2 separate regions of the Homo sapiens genome follow, and region 1 is linked to region 2. The links are contacts of gene promoters, found by promoter capture Hi-C in blood cells and fetal thymus (Javierre and others, 2016). All regions are on one chromosome and are shown on one strand. The core of a region is centred on a gene start or on the middle of the fragment in contact, and the rest is flanking DNA. Distances in the headings are between cores, read along the strand shown. Region 1 holds the start of CHLSN (cholesin). Region 2 holds the start of EIF3B (eukaryotic translation initiation factor 3 subunit B).

Region 1 (7,031 bases), core at 324-2,823, 1.2 Mb after region 2:
CGACTTCTAATGAACAGAATATGGCAAAAGCCTAGGGAAGTCACTTCTGAGATTAGGGTGCAAGGAGACTGTGATGTGCGTCTTGTGTGTGCCTCCTCTTGTGTGTGCTTGCACCGTCTAAGGCAAGCCAGCTGCAGTGTTGTGAGCTTCCTTGTGGTAAGGCCCATGTACCAAGGAACTGAGGGTGGCCTTTGGGCAGCAGCCAGCAAGGCTGAGGCCCTTCTCTAATGACCTTGGAGGACTGAGTCCTTACAATATCCGTGTGTGTGAGCTTGGGAGTGGATCATTCCAGATAAGCTTTCCGATGAAACCACAACCCTGGGGGGACACCTTGACCACAACTTGGTGAACCCTTGAGGCAAAGGCACAGAGCTTAGCCACGCCCACTTTCCTGACCGCGGATACCATGAAAAAATAAATGTTCTTTTAGGCTGCTAAATGTTGGGTTAATTTGTTATGCAGAAAAAGGAACCAAATACAATCTTCTACCAGTAAGGAAGAGTGCACCTTCTTTGCTTGTCACCTTTGGATTCCTGAGGCAACGTACATCATACTTGATACGGCTGCCAAGCACTTAACTTACTGGGTGACTTGAAAGCATGCTTTTTTTTCTTTTTTTTTTTTAGACGGGGTCTGGCTCTGTTGCCCAGGCTGGAGTGCAGTGCCTTGATCATAGCTCACTGCAGCCTCCATCTCCCAGGCTCCAGCGATCCTCCCACCTCAGCGTCCAGAGTATCAGGAACTACAGGCACGTGCCACCATACCCGGCTAATTTTTATTTTTTTAATTTATTTTTTATTTTTTAAAACAGAGTCTCATTCTGTCGCCCAGGCTGGAGTGCAGTGGCACGATCTCGGCTCACTGCAACCTCCACCTCCCGGGCTTAAACGATTTTCCTGCCTCAGCCTCCCGAGTAGCTGGGATTACAGGCACCTGCCACCACGCCTGGCTAATTTTTGTATTTTTAGCAGAGACGGGGTTACGGGGTTTCGTCATGTTGGCCAGGCGGGTCTCGAACTCCTGAGCTCAAGCGATCCGCCCGCCTGGGCCTCCCAAAATGCTGGGATCACAGGCGTGAGTCACCGCTCCCGGACACAAGCATTATTATAACACTACCCACCCTGTGTATTTTTTAGCACCTATCCTGATTTTTTAAATTCAGCACGAAGTTTAAGTCCTAGCCCTGTTGATCCCAATAGCCGTAGCTCATCCATTTCGACTCCGAGCCGAGCTCCATACCCTGGACCCTCGGCGGAGGCCCCACCCCGGGACGCCAGCCCGGCCGGGGCAGCTTGCACCCCAGACCCCCAAGCCCTGCGGGGCCCAAACCTAGTCATCTGCACTTGTTCTGGGCAGGGCGGGTTGCCTTGGCAACCAGCTCCTCTCCAAGCAACTCTAGGCCTCTAGAGATGGCGTCAGTAGCCCGCGCCCGGTCCTGGAACCGCCCCCCGTGCTGCCGCCGCTTGCCATTAGCCGGCGGAGAGACGGACGCAGACCTCGTCCAATGGGAGGCTCCGCACTCCTGAAGGCGGGACTAACGCTTACCTGGGGCGCGGGTCCCTGCCGGAAGGCGGCGTCCGCGACGCAGCTGTTCACGCTTAGGTGGGCGACGTGGGCGCAGGTGGGCGCAGGTAGGCGCGTGGGGCGGCGGCGGGGTGGCCGGCGGGTCAGGGCGCCAGGAGACCCAGAGCCCCGGGGCGGGCTCCCGCGGGGCTCCGCCCCCTCCACGTGGGTGCGCGGAGGCCCGGCGCGGCGCGACCGGGCGGCGGCCCTGGGGTCCGCGGTGCTGGGGAGGCTGGTGCGGCCGGTGCGGCCGGTGCGTCCCGGCGCGGGCTCCGACACCCGCACCCGCCTCTGGGTTAACTCAGCGCGGGCGAGTGGAAGGGACTCAGCTGGCTCCTAGGTTTCAGGCCGTCAGGGCTTGCAGTGGCTCTGGTTTCATTGTCTTTCTCTGAAGACGCCCTGATTGCCCTCCGAGGCTTTCAGCTCCCACTTTCTCTTTTTCAATTTTTGAGGCAGTGTCTCGCTGTGCCACCCAGGCTGGAGTGCAATGGCGTGATCATAGCTCACTGCAGCCTCCACCTCCTGGGCTCAAGCCGTCCTCCCGCCTCATCCTCCCAAGTAGCTGGGACCACATGCGCGCGCCACCACACCCGGATAATTTTTAAAAATGTTTTTTGTAGAAATGGGGTCTCACCATGTTACCCAGGCTGGTCTCGAATTCTTGGGCTCAAGCGATGGATCCTCCTGCCTCGGCCTCCCAAAGTGCTGGGATTACAGGAGTGAGCCAACGCGCTTGGCCTCACTTTCCATCATAAGCATGCTTTCCGTTTCCTTCCTTCCGTCATTCATTCATTCATTTTTAAAAAACGTTCATTGGGTTCCTCCTGCACTGTTCGGGGCATTGGGCTACAGCTGTCAACAAGTGGAGACAAGTCTGTGATCTAGTGAACTTCCATTCTGGAGGGGAGAGACAGATGAACAAGGTGCACAGAGCAGGTGATGGTAAGTGCCATGGAGAAGATGAGAACAGGGGTTTTGAGAATGGAAAGGAAGCAGGAGGAGGAGTGAGGCACCAGAACATTCCAGGTCGAGGAAACAGCAGGTGCAGGGGAAACAGCAGGGAGCCCAGTGTGGCTGCAGCCAATTTGGGAACAGAGAGAGAAAGAGGAGGTGAGTTCCCAGAGATGCGAGGAGGGGCCAGGGCAGTCGTGTGGACCTTACCAAGTGGCAAGGACCTTGACTTTCCCTCCAAGTGGAAGGGGACAGCTTGGGAAGTTTTTTGAGTGGAGGTGACACACCATCTGATTTAGGAGTTTAAAAGCCATCGTGAGAGGTGGTGGCTTGGACTGGGTACCTATGGGATCTTAAGGGAGTCACATTCTGGGTGTATTTCAGTGGTAAACCAACAGGAGTTTGTGGTGGGTTGGACGAGTATGTGAGAAAGAGAGGATTTATGGATGGACCAAGGTTTTAAGCTTGAGCTACTATGTGAACCTCATCAGATGGATGTTTATGGAGAGGATGAACACTAGGAAGCTCAGGTTTGTGGAGGGTGATCAGGGGTATTGATTACGAATTCTTAAGCTTGAGATGATATATGTGTAGATGATATATATAAGTACATATATATGGTTATATATATAGTTATATATATACACAGTTTATACACACATCCGCATATATATATTTATTTTTATATATTTATATATATTTATATATGTTTATATATGTTTATATATGTTTATGTTTATATGTTTATATATGTTTATATATGTTCATATATATGTTTATATATATTTATATATGTTTATATATATTTATATGTTTATATATGTTTATATATTTATATATGTTTATATATGTTTATATATATTTATATATATGTTTATATATATTTATATATATGTTTATATATATTTATATATATGTTTATATATTTATATATATTTATATATATGTTTATATATATTTATATGTTTATATATTTATATATTTATGTTTATATATATTTATATATGTTTATATATATTTATATATATTTTATATATTTATATATGTTTATATATATTTATATATATTTTATATATTTATATATGTTTATATATATTTATATATTTGTGTATATATTTATAATTATGTATATTTATACATATTTATGTATATATATTTATATATTTATGTATATATTTATATATATTTATGTATATATATTTATATACACATTTATATAAATTTATATATACTTATATTTATATATATTTATATATACTTATATATTTATACATATATTTATATATACATATATATTTTATATATATATTTATATATGCTTATATATTTATATATACTTATATATATTTATATATATTTATATATACTTATATATTTATATATACTTATATATATTTTTATATATACTTATATATTTATATATTCATATATATTTTTATATATTTATATAAATACATATTTATGTAAATATATTTATATATTTATTTTATATAAATAAATAAATAAATTGTGTATATATATATATATATATATTTCTTTTTGAGGTGGAGTCTCACTCTGTTGTCCAGGCTGGAGTGCAGTGGCGCGATCTCGGCTCACTGCAACCTCCACCTCGTATTCAAACGATTCTCCTGCCTCAGCCTCCCGAGTAGCTGGGTTTACAGGCAGGTGCCAGCACACCCAGCTAATTTTTGTGTTTTCAGTAAAGATGGGGTTTCACCATGTTAGCCAGGCTGGTCTCAAACTCCTGACCTCAAGTGATCTCCCCGCCTCGGCCTCCCAAAGTGCTGGGATTACAGGCGTGAGCCACCGTGCCCGGCCATACACATACATATATATACACACATGTAGATATATGTGTATAAACAGTGTAAACAGAGGTCAGGAGTTCAAGTATATATATGTGTATATATGTCTAGGTACACATATATGACCATGTATATATATATAACTATATGTATATACATACAACTATAGCTATATATATACACAGTTGAGTTGGCGTGTAGTTGAAGGAGAGGGTTAATAAGAGACTGTAAAGAGAGGAAACAAAGTCATCAGCGTCTAGTTGGTATTTGAAGCCACATGACTGAATGGGATCACGAGGGAGTGAGGAGGCTGAGCACTAAGCCTGGGTCCTTCAGTGTTCAAGGACACGGCGATTAAGAGGTGGGAGCAAAAGCAGAAGTTCTGCTGTCTGTGCTGGATGCCAAGTGAAAAATGCCTGTCAAGAGAGAAGGAAGGATCAACAGTCCAACGCTGTTAGGTCAAATAAGTTGCATACTGAGAGTTGGCAATGGGATTTAGCCACGTGGGTGTCATTGTGGTAGGGTGTTTGGGGCAAAAGCCTGATGGGATGGGGGAAGGAAAGGAGTCAGAGACAGGGCAGGTAGATGACTCTTTATGTATTTATTTATTTATTTATTTTTGAGAAGGAGTCTCACTCTGTAGCCCAGGCTGGAGTGCAGTGGTGCGATCTCGGCTCACTGCAAGCTCCGCCTCCCAGGTTCACATCATTCTCCTGCCTCAGCCTCCCGAGTAGCTGAGTAGCTGGGACTACAGGCACCCGCCACTATGCCCAGCTAATTTTTTGTATTTTTTAGTAGAGACGGGGTTTCACCATGTTAGCCAGGATGGTCTCGATCTCCTGACCTTGTGATCTGCCTGTCTCGGCCTCCCAAAGTGCTGGGATTATAGGCGTGAGCCACCGCACCCGGCCTATTTATTTATTTATTTAGAGACACAGTGTCACTCTGTTACCCATGCTGGAGTGCAGTGGCGCGATCTCGGCTCACTGTAATCTCCATAGTTTCAAGTGATTCTCCTGCCTCAGCCTCCCGAGTAGCTGGGACTACAGGCACACGCCACCACACCTGGCTAATTTTTGTATTTTTAGTAGAGATGGGGTTTCACCATATTGGCCAGCCTAGTCTCGAACTCCTGACTTCAGGTGATCTGCCCACCTCGGCCTCCCAAAGTGCTGGTATTACAGGTGTGAGCCACTGCGCTCAGCCTTGCCCCCCACCCTTTTAAGAGACAGTCTCTCACTCTGTCGCCGAGGCTGGAGTATCATGGCGTGATCGTGATTCACTGCACCCTTGAACTCCTAGGCTCAAGTGATTCTCCTGCCTCAACCTCCCAAGTAGCTGGGACTACAGGCACGCACCACCATGCCCAGCGAATTAAAAAAATATATATATATATTTTGGGGCCAGGTGTGGTGGCTCACGCCTGCAATCCCAGCAGTCCAAGGTGGGAGGATCACTTGAGCTCAGGAGTTTGAGACCAGTCTGGGAAACATGGCGAAACCCCATTCCCACAAAAAATACAAGAGTTAGCTACGTGGTGGTGTACACCTGTAGTGCCAGCTACTCCGGAGGCTGAGTTGGGAGGATTGCTTGAGCCTGGGTGGTCGAGGCTGCAGTGAGCTGTGATTATGCCACTGTGTTCCAGCCTAAATTTTGTCTCACAACAAACATTATAGCAAATGATCTTTCTCCCATTTATTTATTTATTTATCGTAAAGTAGCACCTGGGTGTTTTTTTTTTTTTTTGAGATGGAGTCTCATTCTCGCCCAGGCTGGAGTGCAGTGGCTTGATCTCGGCTCACTGCAATCTCCGCCTCCCGTGTTCGCGCCATTCTCCTGCCTCAGCCTCCCGAGTAGTTGGGACTACAGGCGCCTGCCACCACGCCCGGCTAATTTTTTTTTTGTATTTTTAGTAGAGACAGGGTTTCACTGTGTTAGCCAGGGTGGTCTTGATCTCCTGACCTCGTGATCCATCTGCCTCAGCCTCCCAAAGTGCTGGGATTACAGGCGTGAGCCACCGTGCCTGGCCGCACTTGGGTGTTACATTTTTAAATTTATGGTAAATAATTTGAGAGGGATTATAGTTTTTTTTTTTTTTTTTTTTTGCAGTATATCGAGGGATTGTGAAACCATCACCACAATCTAATTTTAAGACTTTTTCCTTCTGCCACAAGAAACCCTGTGCCCCTTAGTGGTCACCCACTCTTCCCTCCACTTGCCCTATCCCTAAATAATCTCTCATCTCCTTTCTGTCAGTATAATTTGCGTATCCTGAGCTTTTCACAGAAGTGGAATTTTGCAGTGTGGAGTCTTGGGCGTCTGGCTTCTCCTGCCCGGCACAGTGTCTTCTGGGTTTATTGTCTTGTGGCACATGTCAGTATCCCATTTCCTCTGGTGGCTGAATAGTATCCCCTGTGTGAATACGCCACGTCTTGTTTCCCCCTTCGTCCATGGATGCACAGACACGGAGGTTGTTTCCACCGCTTGAATATTAGGCACATACTGCCGTGAACATCATTGGACACATTTTTATGGAGATGTGTTCGTTTCTCTTTGATTGGCATTTCCTAAATGACCCGATGCTGAGCTGTGTTTCATGTGCCTGTTGGTCATTCGTGTATCTTCTTTGGAGAGACGTCTCTTCAGATCCCTTCCCCATTTAAAAACCGGGTTATTTGTCTCCTGTTGTTGAGTTGTTAGAGGTCTTTA
Region 2 (6,737 bases), core at 1,745-4,244:
AGTCTAGGAGAAACTGCCCACACGTAGGAAGGAAATAAATGAAGTAACTACACCATGAAGACACAACGCCTTGATCACTCTCAGCCCAAGCATCGGTTACACGTGGCTCATGGATTCCCAAGCGGTCTCCAGGAAAAACAGAAGAGAACAATTCTCAACACTAAATAGCAAATAGAAAGAGAAAGAATAGTTAATGAGCCAAAAAAGACATTTAGAGTTAAAATCCTGGATCAGCTGAAACATTAAACTGAAAGGATGATTACAGTTTGAGAAGCTAATCTGTACCAAAAAAGTAATAAAGCAAGACAGGGACTCCAGGCCACCTCTGGCCTGCTCCTTGGAAGACTTGGCCCTTCTGGAAAGAACTGATACAGTCACCTACGGTCTTGCACAATGACCCTGAAGGGCAGCTCTTCTCATAAAGCACAAAACCTGCGTTACCACAACCAGGAGGGCCATGACAAAGTCGGCTTCCTGAGCCTTAGTCCTCAGGACCAGATGCCTCACCTGTCACTCTGGCCAACACTGCACCTTCAGGGCCACGTGGGCCCGCTGAGGACCCACAGCCGTCACCCAGCCTGGCCAACCCTGTCGTCATATTAGCATCCTCTGACTCTTCCCAATTCCAGAAGTAATCTACGTATTAGAAATCTGTGAATTCGATGGGCTCAAATAATGCTTTTTAAAAAAGTAGCAGAATATCCAAGGGCTCAAAATAATCATTAAACCAAAAGTTTTGATTTTTAAACCATAATAACAATTGAAGCGTTAGAAAGAACACTGTTCTGAGCAGGAGAGTCTGGTGGGCCAAGCAGTATAGACCCACTGGGAATTCTCAGCAGCCTACTCCACCTTCAGGGACAAGTTTCCTCAGGACTGAGGGGCGTAGACTAGATGTTCCCAAAGTCTTTAGTTTGTGGTGTCCTTCCTGCTTTTCATGCTAAAATGTCTTTTATGAAAAAAAAAAGTGTAATATAGTAATGGTCACAGTAACTGACAGCGTTTTTATTTTTTAATTTTTCACTTTTTGAGACAGGGTCTCACTCTGTCGCCCAGGCAGTGGTGGGATCTAGGCTCACTGCAACCTCCACCTCCTGGGTTAAAGTGATTCTCGTGCCTCAGCCTCCCAAGTACCTGAGACTACAGGTGTGCACCAGCACACCTGGCTGACTTGTATTTCTGATAACCTTTTTTTCTTTTTCTTTTTTTTTTTTTTTTGAGACGGAGTCTTGCTCTGTCGCCCAGGATGGAGTGCAGTGGCAGGATCTCGGCTCACTGCAAGCTCCGCCTCCCAGGTTCACACCATTCTCCTGCCTCAGCCTCCAGAGTAGCTGGGAAATCCAGGTGCCCGCCACCACGCCCGGCTAATTTTTTTTTATTTTTAGTAGAGACGGGGTTTCACCGTGTTAGCCAGGATGGTGACCTCGTGATCCACCCGTCTCGGCCTCCCAAAGTGCTGGGATTACAGGCGTGAGCCACCCAGCCCGGCCCTCTGATAGCCTTTTAAAAATACGTTTAAATCATAAATTGGCAACTCCATGTTATTCCCGAAATTGTCCTGGTGTATCGCTGGCTACATCAGCAAGGGTATTTTTATTTTTCTCACTCTAGTATCAACTTAGCCAATCTGCAGAGGCTGATGTGTTCCCAACTTAAAGGCTTAAGAGAGCTAAAAAACAAAAGAAAAACAAATGAGACCAGCTCTCATCAGAAGTAGCTTCAGGAAAAAATCTCTGAGACAGGAAGCAAAAATATGCCTGTAAATCCAATCAAGGTTGAGATGAAGGCAAAGCTGGCTGTTATCGGCAATATTAAAACCTGGAAAAATAACTCTCTTTATAGATTTAGCGCAAGAGATAAAGAAAAATCAAACTGGAATTTCACAGGGTGCCTGTCCCACTAAGGAAGTCTCTGGAGATGGACAATTCTGAGGGGCAGGAGGACAAAATCACCGGCTCTGCCACAAGCTGTTCCTCCGATCCAGACCTTGGGAGGTCTGACTGGTCAGCTCTGGGGACACGTAGACCCGCAAACCTGCCACCGGGTCTTCGGTTTTTGCCGTACCCCCAGCTGCTACACTCACAGCACACCCAGCCATAACGGAGTACCCCATGTGCCCTCTCCCACCCTCTCAGATTTCTGGTTGTCATGCAAATGCCTGGCTCCCGAAGTGAGCTCCACCCTGTCCCCTTTTTCAGGAAAGAAAAGGGGAGGCGCTGGGCTCTCAGAACACTTCCAGGGCACTCGGGAACCCCTCCCTCGGTGGCTTCTCAGGAACACACGGACACCCTCGCTGGAACTTCTGCACGAACCGGTGGCACAGCCCGACGATATCTCCCACCTCGGGAACCCCAGCCACGCTCCCGCGCCGCTCGCCAGCCCCGCCCCGGGCGCCCTCACCTTCCTCGCTCACGTCGTCCACGAAGTCCTCGGGGTCGCTGAAGGAGGGCTCGTCCGCGTCGCCGTTCTCCAGCGCCCGGGGTTCGGCCTCGGCCGCTCTGCCCTCGTTTCCTCCCGCGTCCTCGGACACCGCCTGGGCCCGGCTGTCGGAGCGCTCGTCCCGAGCCTGCTCTCCTGGGGCCTCGCCCTGTGCCGGGACAGGGGGCTCAGCATGCGACCCGGGCAGCTCCTCGGCGGCCGGCGGCGAGGGCGACTCGGACGGGCCGGAGGCCGCCTCTGCCTCGGCCGCCGGCTCGGTCCTCACCTCGGACTCCGGCCCGGCCTCCGCGATCCCCACCTCCTCACTGGAGGCCTCGGTCCCCGCGGCCTCCGGAGCGCCGGGCCCCGCGGGCCGCAGCAGCCCCTCGGCTGGCGGCGGCTCGGCGGCCGGCTGCTGCTGGCCGGGCTCGGCGCGCTCCTCGGCCGCCTCGGGCACCGCCACGTTCTCCGCGTCCTGCATGGGCCCAACGCTGCCTACTCGCAGGGCTCCGCGGCCGCCGCGCTTCCGACTCTCCCAGGCCGCACCGCGCGCCGCGACGGCTACAGCCCAGCCATGTGCGTGCGACGGGGAGGCCGCACCAAGGCCGCGGGGCGGGGGGCGCACCCACGCCCTGGGGCCTCACGAACGACCCTGAGAGGACTCGCATCCACAAGACCGCGCCCGAAAATCATCAAACTGATATATTTGTGACAAGAAAGTGCTTAATTCCATTCAGCAAGGTTGTTTCTGTGCATCAGTAAACTCATGGGAGCATTGACCACCCCATGTGTGGCAGCAGATGGTTCCGTCCAACATGGCGTCCTCCCCCTTTCCTTTCCCGTCGGACGCTGCGGGGCGGGACTGAACTATTTGTGGAGCTGAAGGCGGGGACAAGAAATGATTTTAGTACCCGGAATGCTAGGAAAATGTCCTCTAACTCAACAGTTAATACCCTGGAAGAGTGGAGACTCAACAGGCGATTGCTCAGGGCGTCTGAGCCTTTCGCTAGGGAAACCGTTTAGTTTACGTTACTAAAGTCCCCCCTGTCCGTGTCTGTCACTTGGACTCGCCTACTGACTGAGCAAAAGGACAGACTACTTCAAAATAGAAAAGGAATTCGGGGCGAGCCAGAGAGGGCCCACACGACTAGAAGGACGACTGCCTGGCGCGATACAAAAATGTATGGAAGTTTCTTTAATCGCTTACCCCCAGTCCTTCCCTAGCGGCCGTCACTGCCTGTTTCCCCCCATTCGGGCTTTCACAGTGGTTCAGTCCATCCGAGGCCGCCGCCTTCAGCGCGGGACAGCGCGGGTCACGTGGGGGCGGGGGCGGGTCCTCGCCGCGTGGAGCTCGAGGCTGACTCCGGAGGGACCGGAGCGGTTCGCTCTGCGCGGGTGCTCACGGGACGGGCATTGGGTGCATGTGGCTTCTATCTTGTTTTTTGCCGGAGTGGAGGACAACCACTGGTTGGGGGATGTCTTAATCATCCTAGAAAACAACCCAGTGGATCACGCCTGTTATCCCAGCACTTTGGGAGGCTGAGGTGGGAAGATCGCTTGAGCTTAGGAGTTGGAGACCAGCCTTGCCAACATAGCACCACCACCCCCCGCACGCCAGCCCTCATCTCTACGAAAATTAAATAAATAAATAAAACAGGTGGTACCCAGAGGCTGGGGTGGAGAGTGGGGAGTGTTTATCGGGGACGGACCTTCAATTTGGGAGGATGAGAACGTTTTGGAGATGACGGTGGTGATGGTACAACATGGTGAATGTACTTGATGCCACTGAACTGTATACTAAACTTCATATTAAAATGGCTAGGCCCTGCGCGGTGGCTCACACCTCTCTTCCCAGTACTTTGGGAGGCCAAGACAGGAGGATCACTTGAGCCCAAGAGTTCAAGACCAGTCAGGGCAACATAGCGAGACCCTGTCTTCGAAAAAATAAAATAAAATGCCAAAAAGGTAAATTTTATGTATATTTCATCCTATAGTTTTTTTGTTTTGTTTGTTTTCAGAGATAGGGTCTCGCTCTGTTGCCCAGGCTAGAGTGCGGTGGCATAATCACAGCGCCGCTGCAATCGGGACCTTCCAGCCTCAAGAGAATCCTCCCACCTCAGCCTCCCAAAGTGCCAGGATTACAAGCGTGAACCACCGCGCAGGGCCTAGCCATTTTAATATGCAATTTAGTGTACAGTTCAGTGACATTAAGTACATTGCCAAGTACTTGGGACTGAAGGTATGTGCCACCGTGCCCAGCTAATTTCTTTATTTGTAGATAGCATCTCACTGTGTTGCCCAGGCTGGTCTCAAACTCCTGGCCTCAAGCAGTCTTCCTCCCTCAGCTTCCCAAAGTGCCGGGACTATAGGCATGAGCCACCACACCCATCCCATCCTAACGGTGTTTAAAAGAGCGAAAAAGAAGCAGAGTCTTCCCATGCCTAGTACCAGGTTTGACTACTCCTCATCATGCTGTCAGTGGTGTATCTTTGGGCAGGTCACTTAATGCCTCCACCTCAGTTTCCGCATCTGTACAATAAGGGATGACAATTTTTTTTTTTTTTATTTAGACGGAGTGTTGCTCTGTCGCCTAGGCTGGAGTGCAGTGGCACGATCTCGGCTCACTGCAAGCTCCACCTCCCGGGTTCACGCCATTCTCTTGCCTCAGCCTCCCAAGTAGCTGGGAATACAGGTGCCCGCCACCACGCCTGGCTGATTTTTTTTGTATTTTTTTAGTAGAGACGAGGTTTCACCGTATTAGCCAGGATGGTCTCGATCTCCTGACCTTGTGATCCGCCTGCCTCGGCCTCCCAAAGTGCTGGGATTACAGGTGTGAGCCAATACGCCTGGGAGTATGTTTTTTCTACATATGCATGCTTACAATAGGGCACAGTAAGAGATTAACAGCAATAACTAATAGAACAATTATAACAATATATTGTCATAAAAGTTATGTGGATGTGGTGTCTGGTGGTGTGTCTGTGTCTCTCTCTGTCAAATTTTCTTCATTATGTAATATTTTCCAACCTAATTGACCATAAGTAACTGAAACAGTGCAATGTGAAACTGGGGGTCGGGGGGGCTACTGTGTTTGGAAGCAGTCTTCCCAGATGTAATCAAGATGAAGTCAAAGTGGACGAGAGTGGACCCTAAATCAGTGATTGATGTCCTTATTAGAAGAAGGAAATTATGGCCGGGCATGGTGGCTCACACCTGTAATCCCAGCACTTTGGGAGGCCAAGGTGGGCGGATGCATTACATGAGGTCAGGAGTTCGAGACCAGCCTGAACAACATGGTGAAACCCCATCTCTACTAAAAATACAAAAATTAGCCAGGCATGGTGGCACATGCCTGTAATCTCAGCTACTCAGGAGGCTGAGGCGGGAGAATCACTTGTACCCTGGAGGCAGAGGGCGTAGTGAGCGGAGATTGCACCATTTCACTCCAGCCTGGGCAACGAGCAAAAATCCATCTCAAAAAAAAAAAAAAAAAAAAACCAACAACAACAACAAAAACTTACTCGATTTTTTGTTTTTATTATTATCTTTATTTATTTATTTATTTATTTTTTGAGATGGAGTCTCACTCTGTCGCCCAGGCTGGAGTGCAGTGGTGCTATCTCGGATCACTGCAAGCTCCACCTCCCGGGTTCAAGCAATTCTCCTGCCTCAGCCTCCCGAGTAGCTGGGACTACAGGCGCCTGCCACCACACCCGGCTAATTTTTTGTATTTTTAGTAGAGACGGGTTTCATCCTGTTAGTCAGGATGGTCTCACTCTCCTGACCTCGTGATCCGCCCGCCTTGGCCTCCCGAAGTGCTGGGATTACAGGCGTGAGCCACTGCGCCTGGCCTATTATTATTTTTTAACAGGGTCTCACTCTGTCACCCAGGCTGGAGTACAGTGGTGCCGTCGCACCTCACTGTAGCTTCAGTCTCACAGGCTCACCTTAGCTTCCTGAGTATCTGGTAGTACAGATCCACACCACCACATCGGGCTACCTTTTTGTTTTTCTGTAGAGATGGGGTCTCACTATGTTGCTCAGTCTGGTCTTCAACTCCTGGGCTCAAGCAGTTCTCCCAACTCTGCCTCCCAAAGTGCTACAGGCATGAGCCAGCAGGCCTGGCCTCCGCTGGTCTATTTCTGAGCCTCTGAGGTGAAGGAGTGGGAAACCTGAGGCACCGCACCAACCCTGGCAGCAGAGATGGCCGGATGAGGCTCCCAGGCTGACCTGCAGCGTGGCCTGTGTTGTGCTTCCAGGGGTAGATTTTTTTCTTTTTGTTTTTGAGACAAGGTCTCACTCTGTCACCCAGGCCGGGA

What was found. The method cuts DNA at HindIII sites, captures the fragments that hold promoters and counts their contacts. A CHiCAGO score of 5 or more calls a contact.
Region 1: the fragment with the promoter of CHLSN here is called in contact with the fragment with the promoter of EIF3B in region 2 in 1 of 17 cell types (neutrophils); the score reaches 5.3 in neutrophils.

What each region holds. Positions count from the first base shown.
Region 1 is chr7:1,132,789-1,139,819 of GRCh38, reverse strand. CHLSN (cholesin) reads left to right here and starts at 1,573. Exons shown (of 5, transcript NM_001318252.2): 1 at 1,573-2,505. RefSeq lists silencers at 1,164-1,303, 1,504-1,953, 1,964-2,013 and an enhancer at 1,344-1,443. The HindIII fragment of the contact is 2,681 bases long and covers 300-2,980 here.
Region 2 is chr7:2,351,084-2,357,820 of GRCh38, reverse strand. It overlaps EIF3B (eukaryotic translation initiation factor 3 subunit B), which reads right to left and starts at 2,994. Exons shown (of 19, transcript NM_001037283.2): 1 at 2,401-2,994. The coding sequence starts at 2,899. It also overlaps a transcript of SNX8 not described here. RefSeq lists silencers at 2,538-2,647, 2,698-2,787, 2,968-3,107 and enhancers at 3,908-3,977, 3,648-4,203. The HindIII fragment of the contact is 9,918 bases long and covers 1-6,737 here.